6 separate regions of the Homo sapiens genome follow, and all the other regions are linked to region 3. The links are contacts of gene promoters, found by promoter capture Hi-C in blood cells and fetal thymus (Javierre and others, 2016). All regions are on one chromosome and are shown on one strand. The core of a region is centred on a gene start or on the middle of the fragment in contact, and the rest is flanking DNA. Distances in the headings are between cores, read along the strand shown. Region 1 overlaps AKAP7 (A-kinase anchoring protein 7). Region 2 overlaps AKAP7 (A-kinase anchoring protein 7). Region 3 holds the start of ARG1 (arginase 1). Region 4 holds the start of LOC102723445 (a long non-coding RNA gene). Region 5 overlaps AKAP7 (A-kinase anchoring protein 7). Region 6 overlaps AKAP7 (A-kinase anchoring protein 7).

The links. The method cuts DNA at HindIII sites, captures the fragments that hold promoters and counts their contacts. A CHiCAGO score of 5 or more calls a contact.
Region 1: a contact is called between a fragment that was not itself captured here and the fragment with the promoter of ARG1 in region 3, in 12 of 17 cell types (naive CD8 T cells, naive CD4 T cells, non-activated CD4 T cells and 9 more). The highest score is 12.6, in naive CD8 T cells.
Region 2: a fragment that was not itself captured here is called in contact with the fragment with the promoter of ARG1 in region 3 in 4 of 17 cell types (naive CD4 T cells, naive CD8 T cells, non-activated CD4 T cells and 1 more); the score reaches 7.7 in naive CD4 T cells.
Region 4: a fragment that was not itself captured here is called in contact with the fragment with the promoter of ARG1 in region 3 in 8 of 17 cell types (total CD8 T cells, non-activated CD4 T cells, fetal thymus and 5 more); the score reaches 10.3 in total CD8 T cells.
Region 5: a fragment that was not itself captured here is called in contact with the fragment with the promoter of ARG1 in region 3 in 5 of 17 cell types (naive CD4 T cells, megakaryocytes, activated CD4 T cells and 2 more); the score reaches 7.4 in naive CD4 T cells.
Region 6: a contact is called between a fragment that was not itself captured here and the fragment with the promoter of ARG1 in region 3, in 1 of 17 cell types (total CD8 T cells). The highest score is 5.0, in total CD8 T cells.

Annotation. Positions count from the first base shown.
Region 1 is chr6:131,161,552-131,165,195 of GRCh38, reverse strand. It overlaps AKAP7 (A-kinase anchoring protein 7), which reads right to left. Exons shown (of 8, transcript NM_016377.4): 4 at 1-115. Among named protein-coding and RNA genes, the nearest start is that of AKAP7, 28 kb to the right of the region's middle. RefSeq lists a silencer at 960-1,160. The HindIII fragment of the contact is 231 bases long and covers 1,709-1,939 here.
Region 2 is chr6:131,178,095-131,181,673 of GRCh38, reverse strand. All of the region lies in intron 5 of AKAP7 (A-kinase anchoring protein 7), which reads right to left. Among named protein-coding and RNA genes, the nearest start is that of AKAP7, 44 kb to the right of the region's middle. The HindIII fragment of the contact is 7,868 bases long and covers 1-3,579 here.
Region 3 is chr6:131,571,549-131,575,158 of GRCh38, reverse strand. ARG1 (arginase 1) reads right to left here and starts at 1,933. Exons shown (of 8, transcript NM_000045.4): 1 at 1,820-1,933. The coding sequence starts at 1,876. It also overlaps a transcript of MED23 not described here. RefSeq lists an enhancer at 1,966-2,467. The HindIII fragment of the contact is 9,894 bases long and covers 1-3,610 here.
Region 4 is chr6:131,128,990-131,133,046 of GRCh38, reverse strand. LOC102723445 (a long non-coding RNA gene) reads left to right here and starts at 2,686. Exons shown (of 4, transcript XR_428022.3): 1 at 2,686-3,032; 2 at 3,134-3,310. It also overlaps a transcript of AKAP7 not described here. The HindIII fragment of the contact is 1,293 bases long and covers 2,025-3,317 here.
Region 5 is chr6:131,199,870-131,204,052 of GRCh38, reverse strand. All of the region lies in intron 6 of AKAP7 (A-kinase anchoring protein 7), which reads right to left. Among named protein-coding and RNA genes, the nearest start is that of AKAP7, 66 kb to the right of the region's middle. RefSeq lists enhancers at 3,914-4,013, 4,064-4,113. The HindIII fragment of the contact is 2,978 bases long and covers 1,101-4,078 here.
Region 6 is chr6:131,221,168-131,225,124 of GRCh38, reverse strand. All of the region lies in intron 7 of AKAP7 (A-kinase anchoring protein 7), which reads right to left. Among named protein-coding and RNA genes, the nearest start is that of AKAP7, 88 kb to the right of the region's middle. The HindIII fragment of the contact is 2,783 bases long and covers 1,313-3,957 here.

The sequences.
Region 1 (3,644 bases), core at 575-3,074, 410 kb after region 3:
ATAATTGCATCACCAGCAGGGTAATATGAAAGGAACCATCACTGACCATTGCTTTGGCCAGTCGCTCATCTTGTTGTATTATTGCATTCTGCAGGATCTTAATTCCTTTTATAATCTAATAACACATACACACATATAAAAAAAATTCCAGTGATTAGGTAAGCAAAATTTCTTTATGGTAAAATGTAAAATCAAGAAGAAAAATAAGCAACAACCAAAATTAGAACAATGTTAAGATTCTTCAACCAAATGAATGCTTAATTGTCTACTTGTTCTCAAACAGATAGTTGACTGGGACAGCTTAAAAGGATGTGTAAGTTTTAAAGCATGATGATTGTCTATCTTAACAGTACTGAACCCAACACCCTTATTTTGCAGATCAGATTGCTATCTGACTGGAAAAACCTCTCAATGGCCCTGCATCTTTTCAGAAATTTGTCCTTGGAATACCCAATATGACTCAATAACTATGATCTTTCCTAAGAATAAGGCTTTATTCTTGCCACAGAAAGGTCAAGCCAGCAGACAACATTCCATTTCTGTTAGAAGCAATAATTATTTGTCTCCAAGTGAATGTGTCTGTGAACCCGTTCCTCATGGCCTTTAAGATTTTTTACGACAGCAATAATTTCAGTAGAAATGACTACTGTCATTTTTCCATACCTGTGGGGAGGGGCATTACCATGAAGAGTTGCAAAGAAGTCCAAATGCACACATTAGAAAAACAGAATCTGCATCCAGGAGAAATCCCCACAGACCTGGTCCACCATCTCCCTTCCTCTCTCAGCACCTGCTCCTCTGAAACAGGGAGAGGAATGATGCATCTTCCCTCCTCCACTTCCAGTTAGATGCAATTCTAGTCAACTTCTAAATGTGAGTACATTTGAAAGTAGTCTGAATACAAAATAGCAAACCCAGAAAAAAAACAACAGAGAAAAGAGAGCACAGAGAAGCCCTAAGGGAACAGAAGACAGAAGCCCTGAGGCAGCACAATAGAAAAAAAGGGAAAGAGTGGGGGCTGACAGTCAATGCAGAATCCATAAAAAAGCAGAGATAAGAAAAAACTGACTCATGAGCATAGCAAACTGTTCTGATACCAAAGTAGCTGTTTTATCCTGAACAATGTTCCCATTATCTGCGGAATGTGATTGTGCAAATCATGAGATGCTGTCCTTGGATCTCACTTCCCATTGACAGACTCTCTCCTTTGACCAAAACTTTAGTCAGGCCCCTCCAAGTCTTCTGCTTGACTAGGCCTAACCATGGGCTTCTCTCTCTGTCCTTGTAGAATTTAGTTTGAGCAAGAATGCTGCTATGTCAGTTTCAAGAAATCCCCCACCCTTGGTGTCTAACCACCCTCCATATCTGAGCTCACCTAAGAAACATTTAGGATTTACTGTACCCCCATCAAAATGTTTTCTTCTTTTCTTTTTAAACTAACATGCAATTGAAAGTTAATGGAAACACATATTTTCATATACTTCCAATTAGGATATTTGTATGCAGCCATCCTAATCCACTTTCCAATTCTATTGCTTAAAATATGAAATCAAGATTTTCCACTAATAAAGAATTCCGAACTTCTAAGAATGTGTTTAAAATCAAAGACCAGTGGAATTCTGGATACTTTTTTCTTTAAAACTAGATGCCAACACGTAGAGGCCAAAAGTAGAGCAACTCATTGTGAATGTGCTAGCTTCCAAAAGCTTGTTTGCAGGTCACTTAATTGGAACTTGGAATACAGTCTTCCATTGAAACAATGTTATAAATGCTAATTCTTTTCCCAAGCCTTCCCACAAAAGCTCATAAGTAGTTTAAAAAGAAAATTAACATTAGACACTTTAAAACAAACAAACAAAAATGTGCTCATGTAGAAGATACAAAATATAACTCCTAATCTTGCCTGACTACATCTCTTCCCCATATTTGTATGTAAGCTTTCTAAGTGATTAACTACAAATAAGTCTCTTGAAAAGGAAACATTACATTATTTGGTTTCAAGGTCACTTGAAACCTGCATTTCCCTCTATTATAAGTTACCCTACCTCCTCCAAAACCAGTAACTGCTGTTGAACCTGTATTATGAAACCACCATTACACTGTATTTATTATTTTTAAGTATTCTGGTTATAACTTGGAATGACAGAAACACGCTTTTGCCATGAAACAGCAGCAGAGAGAGAGAGAGAGCGAGAGCGAAAGAGCGTGTATGTGTGCGCACCTACTCTTGAACAAACACCAGTCTAGGTATGGGCATGCACTAAAAACCTTGTGAGGAAGACAAGTGTCAAGTTGCAAGGATGACAAATGGCATACAGAAAGCTGTGAAAGCCTTTAGCTGACAGGAATGGGGCAAGGAAAGGGATAGTTGACCTAGACGAGGTGGTCATGGGTAGAGAGGTTTGAGCTGAGATTCCGGCATTAACAAAACCAAGAGGAGCAAAGAGAAAGCTCCAGCCAGAGAAGGCTTTTCCTGGGGCCAAGGGAACCTGGCAAGCCCAAGGAAGGGTAGAAGAGCTCGGGCAGAAAAAGCAAGGGCTGAAGGAGAGACGAACAACGACAAAACCTCAGAGAACATGGAAAAGAGGTTGTCTTTATCCTATCGATGGGAAAATCCTGAAGTATATAAGCAGGTTGGTGACACGGCTATATTCGGGTTTAAAAAATAGTCATCTAAAGGAGGTATTATCACCCACCTCATTTTACACCTGAACAAACTGAAACTTGAAAAATTTAGGTAACCTGACCTGCACATGCAGCGGAGTCTGTGACTCAGCTGGGACTAACAAGTCTGTCAGACCCAAAGCCTGCACTCTTTCCAGCATCTACACAACTTTACAGGGGTAGAGAGGCAGAAACAAAGGCTACAGCAGGTTAAAGGATGAAAACTAAAAGCTGCGGACAGGACTCTCATCCCCTTTCTCCCTTCACCTTTGTGATGCAAAGCCTAGAAGTTAGTGGTGAAAGGAAAGAATTTTTTTCTCTTCCTTCCTCTCAATCCCCTTCCCCACCTTCCCTATCCCATCAGCACATCATCCCATCAGTCTTCTCCGGAAGGGGTAAGAAGCCATAACACAGCTAGGAGGGGAGAGAGGGCAGACATGGGGGTGATGCAGAGATGCTGCTCAGTCTCCCCTAGGAGTAAGGAATACAGGTGAAGGGAGAAGCAGAAAATGAGCGGCCTAGGGAAAGTGACACCCAGAGGTGTTCATCGAACATCTGTCAAATCAAAATACAGAACCTGGATTCTCTTCCAATCACAAATCATGTGTCCATAGGGAAGTCACTTCAACTGTCTGACATTCAGTGTCCTTAGGACCTGGCTTCTGTCTGGCTGCTCATGAAAGCAGCAGCACCTTTCACTCCCTGAGCTCTTCTAATCCCCACAGGTATACGTGATCCTAAATTTCAAACCAAACTTGCAAGTATTTTAATAAAATGTATAATTGCTGATTACACTAACTTTGTATTGCCTAAACACTTTTAATGACTATTGCACTAGGACCTTTAATTTTTTTTTTTTTTTTTTTTTTTTTTTTTTTTTTTTTTTTGAGATACAGTCTGGCTCTGTCACCCAGGCTGGAGTGCAGTGGCACAACCTTGGCTCACTGCAACCTCTGCCTCCTGGACTCAAGCAATCCTCC
Region 2 (3,579 bases), core at 4-2,503, 390 kb after region 3:
ACAACACAAGAAATAAGGCTAAATACACAGGCAAGAATCAAGAAGCTGAGAATCTTAAATGACACAGCAAGAAGAATAGATTTTATCCTAGATCCAACAGTAAGTCAATAAATTCTTTTAAGCAGGGAGCATAAAAATGCTTAGTTTTGTGCTTTAGAAAAAGAGTCTGGAAGCAAAGCGGCAGACTGTAGACCAGGAGACTATTGCAGTAGAATGGGTGAAAGATGAACAGAGCTTGGACTGAGGCACAGCAATAGGAACAGAAAGTAGGGAACGAATGGGAGTGATATTTAAGACAGAAAATTTACAGCATTTGATGACTATGAATATCTAAAATGACTGATGCTGGGGTTTAGGATGACACCTACATTTCTTGATGTTCCTGGTGGAAGAGTAGGGAGATTGACCATGATGGTAAATACAAAAAGTGAAACATGGGGCCAGGCGCGGTGGCTCACACCTGTAATCCCAGCATTTTGGGAGGCCGAGGCAGGCAGATCACCTGAGGTCAGGAGTTTGATACCAGCCTGGCCAACATGGTGAAACCCTGTCTCTACTAAAAATACAAAAATTAGCCAGGCATGGTGGCAGGCGCCTGTAATCCCAGCTACTCAGGAGGCTGAGGCAGGAGAATTGCTTGAACCCAGGAGGCTGAGACAGTGCCACTGCACTCCAGCCTAGGCAACAGAGTGAGACTCCATTTCAAAAAAAAGAGAAACATAGTTAAACAGAGAGTCAGGTCCAGAAATCTAAAAATATAAATGCTTAAAGAAAAAAGAGATAAGCTAATGAAGAAAGCTGAGAAGATACATTGAGAGAAGTATTAAAAAAAAAAAAAACAAAACAAACAAAAAAAGAAAGTGGTGTCTCAGAAACCAAAAGGAGAATTTAAAGAAGGGAGTCCTCAGTTGTATGAATAAATCTAGAGCATTCGTTAGATTCAGCAATTACAAAGCTATCAGGGGCCCACGATGTGGCATGCAGTGAAGTAGGCCATAGCCTACTGACCGCAGGAGGTTTGAGAAAAGGACAGTAATGAACTAAAGACAGATAATGCAGGCAACTCTTTTAAAGATTCTGGATAGGAAAGGTACAATGAAGATTTTTAAATTTTAAAGATTCTAGGTAGGAAAGGTACAGAGAATACAGGCAACTCTTTTAAAGATTCTGAGTAGGAAAGGTACAATGAAGAAGCTAGCAGGAGATTCAAGATCAAGAGATTTTTCTGTAGCTAATTCTTAGGATTTTTTAACTTTGTTTTTTGTTTGTTTAGGGATAGGAAAGGTGTTATTGAGCAAGTAAAGTTGGGGGAAAGGAGGTAATAAAGACAAAGGGTTGAAAACACAGAAGCACAGAGAGGGAAGAAGTAACTGGTACAGCAAGATCCTGGTTGAGTCCAGCAGACCAAGAACACAGCTGAAGGGGTTAGTCTTAACTAGATAAAGGACACCTCTTTTCCCAAAACTGTATGAGAATTTAAAAGCCAAATGCAGTAGCAGATAGGTTCACCAAGCACAGGGACTTGAAGTGAGCAGATCCCAGCCTCAGTGCCATCTGCTGAGAGAGGGGTAGAAGGTTATAGTTGCTCCAAACAGGGGGCTGGGGCAGCAACAGCAGACATGAGGAAAACTGAGCAGAAGCAGTGGACCTGCCGAGCCAAGGCTCTGAGTGTGGAAAACATACATTTGCAGGAGAGCCAACCTACATGACTGTGTGATTTCTTCATTTTCTCATTCTTTTGATGAATACTTATTAACAACTTATTTATTTATTTATTATTTATTTATTTATTTATTTATTTATTTGAGACAGGGTCTTTTTCTGTCACCCAGGCTGGAGTATGGTGGCATATTCACAGCTCGCTGCAGCCTCGCCCTCCCAGACTCAAGCAATCCTTCCACCTCAGCCATCTAAGTAGCTGGAATCAAGGCATGCACCATCATGCCAAGGTAATTTTTTTCTATCTTTTGTAGAAACAAAGTCTCACTATGTTGCCTAGGCTGGTCTTAAACCGCTGAGCTCAAGCAATCTTCCCTCCTCAGGCCCCCAGAGTGCTGGGATTATGTGAGCCTTAACGCGTTTTATGTGTCACACATTATAGACAGTACTGGGTATACACTAGTGACCAAAACAGTCATGGTCCTGGCCCTCGTGGAGCCTAATCTAGCCACAAAGATAGTCAATCAAATAGACAATAACGGGCCAGGCACGGTGGCTCACGCCTGTAATCTCAGCACTTTGGGAGGCCCAGGCAGGCAGATCACTTGAGGTCAGGAGTTTGAGACCAGCCTGGCCAACATGGAGAAACTCCGTCTCTACTATAAACACAAAACTTAGCTGGGTGTGGTGGCAGGCACCTGTAATCCCAGCTACTCGGGAGGCTGAGACAGGAGAATCACTTGAACCCAGGAGGCAGAAGTTGTGGTGAGCCAAGATTGTGCAACTGCACTCCAGCCTGGGCAACAGGGCGAGACTCCATCTCAAAACAAACAAACAAAAAAAAAACCGAATAGACAATAAGGTAATCACAACCTGTGATGAGACCTATGAGGGCATCCCACTGGGTACAGTGATAGAGAGCTTACTTATAAAAATACTCTACTCACAGTGGGCAGGGACTCTCTGAAGTGGTGACATTTGAGATCCTAAGAATGAAAAGGTCTAAGCAGAAGGAACACTCAGGCATTTTCAGAAGATCTATGGCAGAAAAGACTCTGTTGAGTCCAGTACCTGTAAGAAGCAAGTTCAAGTGGGGCACAGTGGGCAGGGAGAGAGGACCACGATAAGGCAGGAGATATAGGCAGTGGACCAGAACATGGAGGATATTGTGGGCTACAGCAAGGAGGGTGGATTTTATTTTGCCCAGGTGTTGGCGCAAAAAAGCAAATGACTGGATTGGATCTGCCATCGGTGTTTCCCAGACAGGTCAAACAGAAGGAGATAGGACAACTGAAAGAGCCACCAAGAGAATGGCATACCTTGAGGCCTTGTCTACTTTAAGAATGAATACATCCATGCTGCCTTGAAAGAGGCCAAGCCTGGGTGAGGTTCCGGAGCATTAGCAGTAGTGGAAACGAAGTAAATGGCAACTAGAATGGGAAGTTGTCGTGATAGCTATAACTAAGTTTAAGGTCTCAGAAATATGCTTATGAATGGCAGAGTGGTGTATGGGTGTAGGATGCTAACGTCAAAGAAGTCAAGGGATTTTAAGAAAAGCAACAGCTGTGATGGCAGTAGTGGGAATGGAGTATTTATCATTAATAATAATAGTTACCATCTATTTAACATTGTCTGCGTGCCCAATACTGTGCTAAGCACTTCGTATAGATTATCTCACTTTATTTTCAGAACGGTTACTATTATGCCCATTGCACAAATAAAGAAACTGAAGGATTGGGAGGTGAAGTAAATTGCTTAAAACCACTCAGCTGGTAACAGGCTGCACAGGAATGCAAATGGTTCTGACTGACTCCAAAGCTCACTTTGTGCCAGGATGGCTGGACAGATTGTGCTCGTGCTACTGAAGGACGCAAGCATTGCAATGTGAGCTATGAAACAAAATCCTCAAAATAGGAGAGG
Region 3 (3,610 bases), core at 684-3,183:
TAACACAGCCATTAAATTTTCTAGAATTCTTTTTTATTTGTTTTATTCAAATGGCTTCTCATGATTGGGCTTTCCTCTTGCTTGCTCTATCTGCCCACTTTGGAAATTGCTTTGTCAGCTCCACCGACTTTCTAAGCTGGGCCCAATCCCTAAATGGCCACAAGTATAAGGTCGCCTTTGGAGTTGAATAGTCTGAAGAGACATCAGTGCAAATCAAGGGCATAGGCATTGGAATCAGATTATCTTGTCTGGAATTATGCAGTCAAGGCTGTGTGACGTTGAGCACATTACCAAACCTCTCTGGGCTTTTTTTTAACCCAACTGTAAGGTAAAAATAATACCTACCTTATTGTTTGTTCGCTGCCTTGCAAGCCTTTCAAGGAGGTGAGACAGGGATGAAGCCCTTTCTCAGACTCAACATTTTAGTCATCTGCCCTCTAATCCTTTCCTTTTGCTTATTTGTCAAACTTGTACCTCCTTTAGGTGAGGACAAATACTTATATGTTGGCCATTTTATCCTCTCTACTCTATGACTTAGTGTAAAAAATCTCTCTCTCTTAGTCCTTACAATCATGAGACAATGAACTCCATTCTCATGACCATGTTTTAATGGGAGGAGGGTGGTAGAAGGAGGACACTTGCTTCCCTTTTGTGAGGTTTTTAAATTATATATTTATTATAACCTGTTCAAGAGTGGGTGAGAACAGTGTGGATTTTAAAAGGAACATTTCTGTGTCAGCAAAATGTCCCTGTGTTTGGGAGAGACTTTTGGAGGATTTCCAGGGGAAGCAAAGTAGTATTTACTGACAGTCCAAATGCAGTTTGGGCCTCTAACCTCTGGCCTCTCTCAATTTGTTTTGCAGTAAAAAGTCAGAGTACACAGCAAGGGTTCCAAATTAAGAGGAAGCAAAACGCTGCCCAGATCCTGAGAAACCTGGAGAAAATCAACCTTAGTAGTTTCAACTCATACATTGTCTTGTTTGATTTTGTTCTTTGTTTTTTATCCTCTTTAAGCACAGATGCGTGTTGAAGTCTAAGGTGTTCTGTCATCACACTCTCTTTACTAGAATAAGTGTGCCCAGGCAGAAAAAAAAGTGTATTCAATGTTGCTGGCATGTGTGGATTCACAGCTCGTGGCTGTAAGGAAATCTGGGGGTTTCATAAATCCATTAAAATCCTTTTAGAGTTGCCAACCCGCAGTAGGATTTTCTTTCTTTTTTTGTTCTTTTTTTCCCCTTCCAAGTGAGGCACATAAAGGATTCTACCTAGTCCATGAATGAACAGTTTCATAGAAACATTAAAACCCTAACATAACATGAATTATTCACAAAGTTGCATGAAACAATAATATTTAGGTTATCCAAATTATAAGAAGCCTGAAGGTTACCACCAAACTATTAAATTTTTCTAGGCATTAATTACATAACTAAACAAATGTATTTCTTAAAATTCTCTCTTCCTCTACATACACACAGTAACATCAAAAACAACAAGAGCAACTAAACCTCAATGAGTAGCTACAATGCAGAAAGAGTCCATTTCAATTCAAAGAAAAATATTTTCTCCTAAAAAATATGAGAAAACATTCTGTAGGTTCAAATGAATTTAGCCTTGGCTGAGATCACGAGCCACAAAAGTAAGTGGATATGTGACTATAATTATACAATGTTGGAAAATGGTGAGAGGACTTTAAAATATGCATTTCCTGGCCAGATTGTATCAGAAAACTGAACTAACTAGACAATAACACCTTACAAATTTTGAAGTCCAAAATTTTCAACTAAATTCCAGGAATTCAAAGAAAGACTTTTTTCCTTACCTGTCCCTTTGAGAAAGGAGCTCCAATAATCCCTATGGTTCTGGACTTGGCGCTCATGCTCTGACACTTCTCTTTGCTGCACTTGAGCTCTCCAGTCAGTCAACCCTCAGTGACAGAGGGCGCATCTTTTTTTTCCATTTATACTTGGGTTGAATAAACAACCTTTATCTAATGAGGACAGCTGGCTCCACCCACTAAACCAAAGAATGACAGTCAACAGTCTTGCAATTTTTCATACATGGAGTAACTATATGGTTACTCCATGTATGAAGTAACTATATGGGGTTACTTCATACATGGAGTAACCTAACTCTGAGTCTAGGTCTCTAATCAAGTGACAATTATTCATGTTCTCACTTCACACCCTTTTAAAAAGCCAGCCAGATGACATTAACCTGACTTCAACAACTGACAAGTTTCACAACTACAGAAGAAGTCCTATTGTTCTGGCTCAGCGAACTCAGGGCAAGGCCCTTTCCTCCTCCAGATCTCTGAAGACGTCCTTGTAGAAGAAGGGCCGGGCTTGGCAAGATCGTCTGTCACATCCCTTCCAGCCCTAAAATCCTGAGTTGAGATTTCACACATGAGGGTAAATGGTTAATCCATGAGACACATTTCATAAACTTTTAGGGTATAATATAATAAAGAGTATATAACTTCCTTTTTTGATGATTACTTTAAAAAATTAGTTACTTGATTGGTAACCCAGAGAGGTTACCATTTTTGAAGTATGGTGTACAGGAAAATAATTGTAGAATCATATCATAATCAAAGTATAGAAATAAAAATAGCTAACATTGAGTTTTTACCATGTGTCCGATGCAGTTCTGTTTCAAAATACCATATTTATATTTATACCAATTTTATGTGAAGTCTCATCATTGGTGCCATTATACTGATGAATAAACTGAAGCTCAGACCCGTTGCCAACATAGGCTGTAGAAGAAAAGTCGGGATTTAGTCTCTGCCATTCTGAATCCACTTAACCGTCGAGCTTATAGTCTAAATGCTGGGAAGGTGTCAACCTCTATGCCCCTGAGCTACCATTTGTCACCATACAAAAGTATGAATTTAAAATAAAGGCACCTTAAAGATCCTTCCGACTTTAAAATTATGTAATTGTAATTTAAAGGGAAAATTCACTTAGTAGAAACTAATTTCTTTTTCCTATTGGTGGGAAAGAACATTTTGGAATTTAAATTCCATGAGGTCAGAGAATTTTGTCTGCTGTATCCCCAGGGCCTAGAAGAGTGTTGGTGTATAATAGGCACTCAATAAATATTTATTGAATGGATAAATGAGGAAACCAAAGTCTCATGGGTCCATTTTGATAGGACTGTTTTCCAAATAGGTTTCCTACCTTTTTCTTGTGGGTTTGCTTGTATATCCTAAATATTTACTTGTGGTATTCCTCATATTGCCTAGATATTAACCTTATAGCATTGACATTGCAAATAACTTTTCCCAACCTGTCAGAAATCTGATAACTTTTTATATGTTATCACTCAAAATCCTCAATTTTAAAATAGACACTTGTATAATTTCCCCCGAATGCTTTGTGCTTTGGAAGTCTTATTAAATTCCTGCCACCCCATCAAATTGTAGGTATGTAGTTTTACATTTTCTTCCATTTGCCTTAGAGCTTATCTTTCTCACTTAGTTCCTGAATCCATCTTTGTATGTTATGTAAATTTTCCAACTCGTTTTTCCTCTATCATTCATGCATCAGTTTCCTCAACAACACCCATTGAATAGTCATTCATTTTGCAATTGATTGGAGTGCTGTCTGTC
Region 4 (4,057 bases), core at 1,422-3,921, 440 kb after region 3:
CACCACAACTGATAACTGATTGATGCAAAGATCATCAATATATTCTAAAACCATTACATGAAAGGTTAATGTGGACCGAAATATTTATAAGTTGCCAAAATACTACCCCCCACAAAATACTTGGTAATTGCTCAGGAGAGAACATATTTTTACTCCATGTAAATAAACCTGGTTGTCACCACCTTTATCGTGATTAAACTCAGCATCATTAATGGTGGACAATCTGTGAAAGCTCCTGTGAAAGCTATATCATCACTGCAAGGTAGTCTTGCCATAAATATTTCACCTGAAGCTGCTAAGGCTTTAAATATAATTTTCAGATTTCCAGAAATACAGGAGATAGAGGTACAAGTAAAATAACATGATGAGGAAAGAATCAGACCAATCCAGAATGTGTGACATTCTAGAAAATAATTGGCTCAGGCTTTTCAAAATCTCGGTGGGGTGTTGTGGTCCAGGAACAGTGTGGTAGCTTAAAACTAAACCCTTCCAATCCAGTTGTTTTGGCACTGTGCCAGTGTATATTGTCCTCTGGGGAGAAAAGGGCTGTGTACTAATAGTCAGGGAGGAATGGGCAGAACATACGGAGGGAGAGGGAAGTGTGGACCAGAGGATCCATGCCCTCATGAGTCGTGCTGCAGGTGAACCTTCGTTAAAGCATTGGGCAACCTGGTTCTTTTTTGCTTTCATAAAACAAATTAATACCTATGAATTCATCTTTTTTTTTTTTTTCTGAGACGGAATCTCGCTCTGTCGCCCAGGCTGGAGTGCGGTGGCGCAATCTCGGCTCACTGCAAGCTCCGCCTCCCGGGTTCCCGCCATTCTCCCTGCTCTACTTCCCGAGTAGATGGGACCACAGGCGCCCGCCACCACGCCCGGCTAATTTTTTGTATTTTTTAGTAGAGACGGGGTTTCACTATGTTAGCCAAGATGGTCTCGATCTCCTGACCTCATGATCCGCCCGCCTCGGCCTCCCAAAGTGCTGGGATTACAGTTGTGACCCACCGCGCCTGGCCGAATTTATCTATTTAATTGATTTTCAATATTAACTGGTTCTGTCAATAACCAAACATCCTATAGGGATTTTTAAGATTTTTAAGCCTCTATGTCAGTTTGCCGATTATCTCTAACCTTAACTCATTCTCAGCACCATTTAGCAGTTATTAAATAGAGTTTGTTTCCCACATCAGTACATTGAACTGTCCTACTGCTGTCACAGGGGACCGCAGCTATGGTCAAGATCAGTAGGAACTGTCAGTGACCTCCTTTGGGGAACAGTCCCTGACCCCACCCTTCTACTTGGGTTAGGTACTCCACCTGAGGGCTTTAATACTCCTTGTGCCCGCTCTGACCATCCCTTTTGCCACATTTTTCTGTTTCATACATTAGACTTTACGCCACTAGAAGGCAAAGACTATGTTTTAAAGTCTTCGTATTCCCAAATGCATAGAGATTTCTCAATGAATAGACATTCAATGAATGAATAAAACTTTTATAAGCATCCAGATCCATTAAGTACTCAGATTTGTCAAAAAATAAAGCAGCACTCCCAGATAAATTTCAAAAAAAAAAAAAAAAAGAAAGAAAGAGAAACAATATCACGGGTAATCTTAATGTCCTACAGTTTTGTTGGCAAACAGCCTGTTGCGTGGCAAGAGTGGCGCCATCTTGAAGCAAAACCTCCATGAAGAGCAATGTCTGGCTCCTGCATGCAAAGGTGTTCTGCAGCAAGGTTTTTAAACCAAGCATCTAGCATAGACAACCCCTCATAAAGATGCTTATCTGACCTCCCCAGTGGTCATAAGTTTGAGATGGGACCAACTGCCCAAGTCTTAGAATACTTTCTGGAGGGTGGATGCGAGGATGTGTAATCTCATGGCCTCTGGAGAGTCACTTTGGTTCATAAGACCCTGTTAAATATTTCTTTCTGAAAAACTGGATTTGTCAGTCACTTTCTTCAGCCTCTCAGCTCCCACAACCCTTCAGGATAGGTTTGCATATACCTGCTCACGCCTGAACAAGCTTCTCCAGCTTAAGGCTAAAAATTAGCCAACATTAACTTTAACATCTAAATGTTTTTTCTTTTTTAAAAATTTTTTAATTTCTATTTTTTTCTTTTTTTCCCTGCAAAGCCAACTGCAAGTATAACATTAACATCTAAATCTTAATAGCTAAATGAACCTACCAACTCATGCCAAGACGCCAGTCCTTTGTGAAATTCCTCCAAAATACTTTTGGGTTTCCAAGTGGTGTCTGGCAAAACTAATCTAATGAATCATTCTAAGCTACCACCTGTTCCCAGCCCTTGCTTCACTGAGTTCCATTTGTCCAATCTTGACTCCGGAAAGTCCTCTGCCCTCGCGCACATCAGCTGCCTGCTAATTCACCTGGCCACAGTGGATTCTCCCAGTCTTCATGGTGACATCTCTTGCAAATGAAAAGAACAAGGTCAGCTGGGCACAGTGGCTCACGCTTGTAATCCCAGCACTTTGGAAGGCCGAAGCGGGTGGACAACCTGAGGTCAGGAGTTTGATACCAGCCTGACCAACATGGCAAAACCCTGTCTCTACTAACAATACAAAATTAGCCAGGCGTGGCGGCACATGCCTGTAATTCCAGCTACTCAGGAGGCTGGAGCAGAGAATCGCTCGAACTCAGGAGGCAGAGGTTGCAGAGGTGCAGTGAGCCAAGATTGTGCCTGGGCAACAAGAGTGAAACTCCATCTCAAAAAAAGAGAAAAGAACAACTTCTCCCTACACATTACACTCTGCTAAGAGTAGAGCAGGTTGAGCTGCATCACAGAAGATTTTTGGGACCTATAAGAATTACAGAATTCCTTGAGATACAGCAAGTTTCTTTACAGACACTGCCCCATTTCCCCCAGAGGGCAAGGTACAATGATTGCTGAAATAATTGGATGGGAAGTGTTCAGGTTCAGATTGCCACACTGTTCCTGAAACATGACCCATTTCTGACTTTCAGGAACTACTACTAAATTGACTCATTCACCCTGCCCGACTCCTTTCTTTATGGTGAGTTCTCTCTTCAGGTCCCTCATTTCTCTTCTGTGATACGGTCCTGACCTAGTGAATTTCTACCAAAACAATTGACTCTGTTTTAATTCTTGCCCTAGGATGTTCCTTGGTCCCCATAGAAACTAAAGTTGCAAATGGTTACAAAAAAGGATGACATCATGCAGTTCTACAAGACACGGCCAAATATCAGTACAAAGCTAACTGGGACCCTTGGTGACCCAAGGTAACTCGGGGTGACATTTCATTTTGCTGGAAGAAGAATATGTGTTTAACATGTAAGCTTTTCAATTAATGTTTGAGTATAATATTTTTAAGAAAGCACTACACCTATTTAATAATAGACTTATTTCAGTAGTCAGACACAGTTGAAGGGCCTGATAATATTTAATAACAGAATGCAACATTTTAAATTATTTTAAATATTTCTAACTACAAATCTAAAATTTTATGTAAGTAACATGTTGTTTTATGATATTTTTAAATTCAGAAAAACTTATGGAATAAAATGTAAAATTATCTATAATTGTATCTTTTTAGACATAGATATACATACACATATAAACACATACTCCTGCAGCATATATTTTATAAAAATGAAATCATGTCACATTATGGCATCATAAGCTACTTTTGTCTTTTACAAGATATTGTGACTAATTTCTCATGTCATTAAGCATTCTTCTATATTTTATATTATTCTTTCAATCATGCATTTTTTTTTTTTTTTGACAGAGTCTTGCTCTGTCACCCAGGCTAGAGTGCAGTGGCATGATCTTGGCTCACTGCAACTTCCGCCTCTCGGGTTCAAGCAATTCTCCTGCCTCAGCCTCCCTGGTAGCTGGGACTACAGTCACCTGACACCACACCTGGCTAATTTTTGTATTTTTAGTAGAGACCAAATTTCACCATGTTGGCTAGGCTGGTCCCGAACTCCTGACCTCAAGTGATCCACCCACCTCGGCCTCCCAAAGTGCTGGGATTACAGGCGTGAGCCACCGCACCCAGCTCAATCATGCATATTA
Region 5 (4,183 bases), core at 1,340-3,839, 370 kb after region 3:
TATCCTAACAAATGTTCTTCTCATACACCACGGTTGGGAGTATAAATTGTCACTATTGCTTGACAAGGCAATCTGAGGTATTTCTGAAGGTTTATAATGTCTAATACCCTCTGCTCTTAGAATTCCACTTCAAAGAATTGGTTCTTTGAAATACTGGCATATCCACCCAAAGAAAAGTGAACAAGGAAGTTCATAACAGCATTGTTTGTGGTACCAAAGAAACAGAAATCAACCTAATTATTCATCAACAGAAGAATGTTTAAATTATGATAAATCAAAATAATATTGAGAGTTTTATTTCTGTTTTAAAGAAACTATATGCATGTATGTATGTCCATATATATTTGCAGCACATAGGAAAAGGTCTGGAAGGATCTACTGGCAGTGTTTACCTAGAGAGACATTCTGTTGGGAGGAAGTGGGTTGCAGGATGGTAATGAGGGAGTAACTCTACCTTTCACTCTATAGGTCTGTAAGTATTTGAATTGTTTACAGTAAGCATATATTCAGCTAATAATTTTATAATTAAAGTAACTTTTTAAATAAAGAATAACATACGTGAAATGAGTCCAATCTCCTAACATGCAAGTGGATTAAAAAAAAACTATTATTTCGCCACTCCCTTCTTTTATTTCACTATCAATCTAAATAACATGGAAAGCCAGCAATACATTCCACGATCATCTTTATTTAATGGTCACTTGCTTGTGACATTAGCTCAATGGATGGATTCAGAACAAAAATCTAGAAGAAAATTAGTGCCGAGAGAAGAAAATAGATAGCTGGAAATGTAAAAACGTTAAGACTGAGACTAAGGAACCATATATTTTCAAATAATCTACATACCAAACCACGAATTATAGTAAAGTAAATAAATGAAATCATCTTGTATGTATGCCACCTTTTCATACTGGTTTTAACCTTTACAGTAGATTTGCTGCATAAGAAACTGTTGGATATTTATTTAAGCCTGCAGGTCTTAAGTATATTCCTCTGCAGATCATCTGTATCAGAACCATATATGGCATTTACTGAACATCAAAAGCTTAGGTCCTAGGTCCATCTCTAAATCTAAGGGTAGAGGGTGGAAATCTGAAGCTTCAACCAGTACGCCGGCTGACTTGCGAATCCCCATATCTAAGATCTACTTCCTTAAACTTTCAGGAACACTGACCACTATAATAGTGATAGGAATAGACTCATTCCATAAATTAAAATAAAAAATTCTTATTTGGCTTACTGAAAATGATAATATCATAATTTGTTTTCTTTATTTTATTTTATTTTATTATTATTATACTTTAAGTTTTAGGGTACATGTGCACAATGTGCAGGTTAGTTACATATGTATACATGTGCCATGCTGGTGTGCTGCACCCATTAACTCGTCATTTAGCGTTAGGTATATCTCCTAAAGCTATCCCTCCCCCCTCCCCCATCCCACAACAGTCCCCAGCGTGTGATGTTCCCCTTCCTGTGTCCACGTGTTCTCATTGTTCAATTCCCACCTAGGAGTGAGAACCTGCAGTGTTTGGTTTTTTGTCCTTGCGATAGTTTACTGAGAATGATGATTTCCAATTTCATCCATGTCCCTACAAAGGACATGAACTTATCATTTTTTATGGCTGCATAGTATTCCATGGTGTATATGTGCCACATTTTCTTAATCCAGTCTATCATTGTTGGACATTTGGGTTGGTTCCAAGTCTTTGCTATTGTGAATAGTGCCGCAATAAACATATGTGTGCACGTGTCTTTATAGCAGCATGATTTATAGTCCTTTGGGTATATACCCAGTAATGGGATGGCTGGGTCAAATGGTATTTCTAGTTCTAGATCCCTGAGGAATGGCCACACTGACTTCCACAATGGTTGAACTAGTTTACAGTCCCACCAACAGTGTAAAAGTGTTCCTATTTCTCCACATCCTCTCCAGCACCTGTTGTTTCCTGACTTTTTAATGACTGCCATTCTAACTGGTGTGAGATGTATCTCATTGTGGTTTTGATTTGCATTTCTCTGATGGCCAGTGATGGTGACCATTTTTTCATGTGTTTTTTGGCTGCATAAATGTCTTCTTTTGAGAAGTGCCTGTTCATGTCCTTCACCCACTTTTTGATAGGGTTGTTTGTTGATAACGCTGCATATCTACAACTATCTGATCTTTGACAAACCTGAGAAAAACAAGCAATGGGGAAACGATTCCCTATTTAATAAATGGTGCTGGGAAAACTGGCTAGCCATATGTAGAAAGCTGAAACTGGATCCCTTCCTTACACCTTATACAAAAATTAATTCAAGATGGATTAAAGACTTAAACATTAGACCTAAAACCATAAAAGCCCTAGAAGAAAACCTAGGCATTACCATTCAGGACATAGGCATGGGCAAGGACTTCATGTCTAAAACACCAAAAGCAATGGCAACAAAAGCCAAAATTGACAAATGGGATCTAATTAAACTAAAGAGCTTCTGCACAGCAAAAGAAACTACCATCAGAGTGAACAGGCAACCTACAAAATAGGAGAAAATTTTCACAACCTACTCATCTGACAAAGGGCTAATATGCAGAATCTACAAGGAACTCAAACAAATTTACAAGAAAAAAACAATCATAATTTGTTTTCTAAATATTAAGCATTCTAATCTAAATAAAATGCAATCTGATTTAGATTTTATGTACCATTCAAGCAGTGACTGTTTCTATTTTGATCACCACTCTGTGCCCAGCACCCAGTGTCTGGCACATAGTAGGCACTCAATACATATTTACTTAATTAATATGATTTGGAACAGGGAGCTCCTTACACGTAGAAATGACTCTGCGTGAACTGGAGCTGGCCAGTGGGAGGGAAGAATGTGAGACAGAATGAGATGGGATGGGTTTCTCAGGTGCAGAGACAGTGCTCTGTAACTGATAAGACTGTGATCTCAGTTACATCACAACCATTCCAAGTCTCATATTACTTTTCTATAGGGTAAGATTGATTCTGTGAAATTAACTGCCAATAAATCATTTAAATGCAGTTTGAAATGTTGACATATATAGTTTAAGCATTTTTTTAAATAAATGTCCTTGGGTGCTCTCATTTCAAAGTTAATATTATAAAGACAAAGAAACATTTTGAAACGGAGATATTACCTTCACCACTGATTGTCATTCTGTGATTAAGTTTGAAACCACTTGGAAGAGGACAATCCATTTGAAAGCAAAACAAGAAAGATAACCAGTAAAGAATCAAACTGTCAGTCTACAAGTTTTGTAAATTGTTGTCATCCCATATTTCAAAATCTATCATTTACACCAATTATTTTTACCTAACATACCTAATATGATACTGGAATGATACCTAATATGGATATTACTAAATTTGTGGCAATGTAATCCAAAAAACCATGCAAGATATCTTTCTGAGATTTTCAGCAATAGTTTGTAGAAAACTCTTAACTATAGGATGGTGAGTCACCCAAACCCATGATTTAAAGGGCCCAAAAGACTTTTCTGAGGACAGAGACATTAAATACAAAATGTGGCAAATTTAGAAAAAAAAAATTCTACTTACTACTACACATGGCCTTCATTTCTAGAGCTGCAAATCAGTCTTAACTGCAGCAAAGGGTCATGGAGAGCAGGGAGCGGATATTAATCTGCATGCCCATCTCCAAAACTCTGGTATATGAGAGCAGGCCATCAGATGTCTGAATTTGCATGAGGAACCCCCTAGGCTGAAATAGGAAACAAAATGAAGGGTGGCCTTAGGATTTTAGGAGAAATGCTCATGAACCTAGACGGAAGTCAAAAGTTGCTCCGACTTCTGCGGGAAGAAGGGGTGGCCTATAAAGGCAGTAAGTCACCCTGAGACAGGGGAAGTCAAAAGACTTGTCACTTGGATTGTGCCACTGGGTTGACCATCCTTAGGGAGAAGTACTTTAAAGTACCTCCAGGAAAGGGGGTCCCTCAGTTACCCTCATGCCCAGTCCCCGGTATACCTGGTTCCAAGGCCTTAATTGAGGCAACTGCTGAAAGATGGTCTTTTGGAAACCTTGAAGAGCGACAGGAAGAGGGGTAAAAAAAGCTTACCCAGTTGCGGTGAGCAGCACCAGCGTAACAGGCCAGCAGAGGAAGCTTTGAGAGCAACAGGATGCAAATAACCACAAGCAAGAATAGCAGCAAAAGTGAACT
Region 6 (3,957 bases), core at 1,455-3,954, 350 kb after region 3:
CATGACAGAAGAATTAATATCCATGAAGCAAAGAATAGAACAGGAAAATATGAAAGTAAATCAACTGGAGGCCAGGTGCAGTAATTCACGCCTGTAATCCCTGCACTTTGGGAGGCACAGGTGGTGGATCACCTGAGGTCAGGAGTTCGATACCAGCCTGGCCAACATGGCAAAACCCTGTCTCTACTAAAAATATTAAAAAAAAAATTAGCCGGGCATGGTGGCGCACACTTGTAGTCCCAGCTACTCGGGAGGCTGAGGCAGGAGAATCACCTAAACCCAGGAGGTGGAGGTTGTAGAGGTTGTGGTAAGCCAAAATTAAGCCATTGCATTCCAGCCTGGGTGAAAGAGCAAGACTCTGTCTCAAAAAAAAAAAAAAAAAAAAAAAAAAAAAGTGAATCAACTGGAAACTTTACAAACGTAGCATATATACTAACTGATTTTTTTTTTAAGATGTCTTAAATGGTATAACAGAGATGGCTGAAGAGATAATCAGTGACTTGTAATCTAGCACTCTCCAAGAATGTACCATTAACAAAGATAGGAAATATGCAAATCTAATGAGGGCTAAATTATCTCCCCAGAAAAATTCACACATGTACCTACATACAAAGTTTTATGAACAATATCAGGAAGTTCTCAGTGTCCCTGAGGCCCAATTTCTATCCTAGAACTCTGAATAATATCTTAAGATCAGAAATCTGTCCCACGGTATTAATGTATACCATAAAATGTTGGCTCAAGCCTCAAGAAATTGACATTAAATTTGAGTTAGGATCAAATCAAAGAGAAGCCAAACCAAGGTAGGCCAATTAAATCTGATTAAGAAATAAAACAAAGTATCCCAAATCTAATATTGTTATAAAATATAGGTAAGATTGATAAAATCAATAATATCTATAAGCAAATGAACTCTAGTGTACATTAAACTTGGTTAATTATAACAATAAATTATCACTTTAGATGCACATATGATTTTAAAGTTTATATTGTCATCGCCAAATGTGACCCACGAAAGCATTTGTAATAAGCAAAAATCATTTTTTAAAACAATGTGAAATGATTGGCTTGGGGATACAAGATTGGCAGCGTTTGAAAAAGGCAAAATTGTTTTGAATTAGAAAGTGTAACAGCAATAAAGAAGCTTGATGGAAAGATCTGGAGAAACTACCTCACATAAGGGGAAATTTAAAGACTATAAACTGAAAAAGAGCAATGAAAGCGAAATCTCAGTGGCTTGAACACAGTGATGGGGGGTGGTAGGCTGAATAGAACTGTCCAGTGTCAATTTAGGTAATCTATGATATAAGCTTCATAATGCCAGTCCTGTAATATTTTCAGCAATATCAACATATTCCTAATTTTTTTAACAGGAATGAGAAAGGTAATGAGGCACTGCAATTCTTATAAGGTTGGCCTTGTAAGAGACCTTATAAGGTTGGCAGAGAAGATAGGGGAAGCTGGCCAAAATCTGTCCTACACAAGAAGTATCTAAGTTTTCCATTTACAATGAACCTAAACAGAAATGTTTGGTCCTCATCAAAACTTGGATGGAAGACAGCTCTCTTACAGAGATTCTGAAAAGATGAAAATTCTCCTTAAAATAGACTTGAGATGTTTCAGAATATAAAATTCAAACGACATACTGAATATCTTCTGTTTAAAATAGCTGAAGTCTTTGAAAGGTAAAATGAGGACCTCTGAAGATGTCTAATGAAAATTTGGAAGTAAAATTGTGTCTCTTGAACATTTTTAAATGCTTTAATAAACGTCAGTATTAAGATTCTTTCAGGATGTATACATCCATAGGTGTTCTTCCAGCTGATTTGGAGATAAATTACCTTGGTTAAAGACCTTGCAATATTTAGCTACATATACAGGCATACCTCAGAGGTATTATGGGTTAGTTCCAGACTATTGCAATAAAGCAAACATTGCAATAATGCAAGCCACATGAATTTTTTGGTTTCCTAGTACATATAAAATTATGTTTCATTATATGCAGTCTATTAAATGTGCAATATTATATCTAAAAAATGTAAACATTTTACTTTAAATACACTTTATTGCCAAAAATGCTTACAATCATCTGAGCATTAAGCAAGTCATAATCTTTTTGCTGGTGGAAGGTCTTGTCTGTTGATGTTGATGGTTGCTGACTAATCAGAGTAGTACTTGCTGGAGGTTCGAGTGGTTGTGGCAATTTCTTAAAATAAGACAATAATGAAGTTTGCTGCATCAATCGACTCTTCCTTTCATGAAAGATTTCTCTGTAGCATGGAATGCTGTTTGATAACATTTTACCCACAGTAAAACTTCTTCAAAATTGGAGCTGATTCTCTCAAACCCTTTAAAGCCACTGTTTTATCAATTAAGTTAATGTAGTATTCTAAATCCTTTGTTGTCATTTCAACAATGTTTAAGGATCTTTACCAAGAGTAGATTCCATCTCAAGAAACCACTTATTTTGTTCATTCATAAGAAGCAACTCATTATCCACTAAAGTTTTATCATGAGATTACAGCAATTCAATCCCATCTTCAGGCTTCACTCCTAATTTTAGTTCTCTTGCTATTTCTTTTCTTTTTTCTTTTTTTTTGAGATGAGTGTCACTTTGTCACCCAGGCTGGAGTGCAGTGGTGTGATCTCGGCTCACTGCAAGCTCCGCCTCCTGGATTCACACCATTCTCCTGCCTCAGCCTCCCGAGTAGCTGGGACTACAGGCGCCCGCCACCACGCCCGGCTAGTATTTTTTGCATTTTTAGTAGAGACAGGGTTTCACGGTGTTAGCCAGGATGGTCTCGATCTCCTGACCTTATGATCCGCCCGCCTTGGCCTCCCAAAGTACTGGGATTACAGGCGTGAGCCACCGCGCCTGGCCATTCTCTTGCTGTTTCTATCACATCTGCAGTTACTTCCTCCAATGCAGTCTTGAATCTCTTCTCAAAGTCATCCATGAGGGCTGGAATCAACTTCTTCCAAACTCCTGTTAATGTTGCTATTTTGACTTCCTCCCATGAGTCATAAGTGTTCTTAATGACATCTAGAATGGTGAATCCTTTCCAGAAGGTTTTCAATTTGCTTTGCTCATATCTATCACAATAATCACTATTCATGGCAGCTATAGCCTTACAAAAATATTTCTTAAATAATAAGCCTTGAAAGTCTAAATTACTCCTTGATCCATGAGCTGCAGAATGGACACTGTGTTAGCAAGCATGAAAATAACACTAAACTCCTTGTACATTTCCATCAGAGTTCTTGGGAGACAAGGTGCACTGTCAATGAGCAGTAATCATTTGAAAAGAATTTTTTTTTCTGAGCAGTAGTTAAAATACTCAGTAAACCATGCTATTAACAGATGTGCTGTCATCCATGCTTCGTTGTTCCATTTATAAAGTATAGACAGACTGAATTTAGAATAATTCTTAAGGTCCCTAGGATTTTTGGAATGGACAATGAGCACTGGCTTCAACTTAAAAGTCACCAGCTGCATTAGCCCCTCACAAGAGAGTCGGCCTGTTCTTTGAAACTGTGAAGTCAGACATTGACTTCTCTTCTGTAGCTATGAAACTCCTAGATGCCATCTTCTTCCAATAGAAGGCTGTTTTGTCTACATTGAAAATCTGTTGCTTTGAGCAGCCACCTTCATCAACGACCTTAGCTAGATCTTCTGGATAACTGGCTGCAGCTTCTGTATCAGCACGTTCTGCTTCACCGTGCACTTTTATGTTATGGAGACAGCTTCTCTCCTTAAACCTCATGAACCAGCCTCTGCTGGTTTCCAACTTTTCTTCTGCACCTTGCTCACCTTTCTTACCTTTCACAGAACTGAAGAGAGTTGGGGCCTCGCACTGGATCAGGCTTTGGCTTAAGGGAATGTTGCAGTTGGTTTGATCTTCTATCTAGACCACTAAAACTTTTTCCATATCAGCAATAAGGCTAATTCACTTTCTT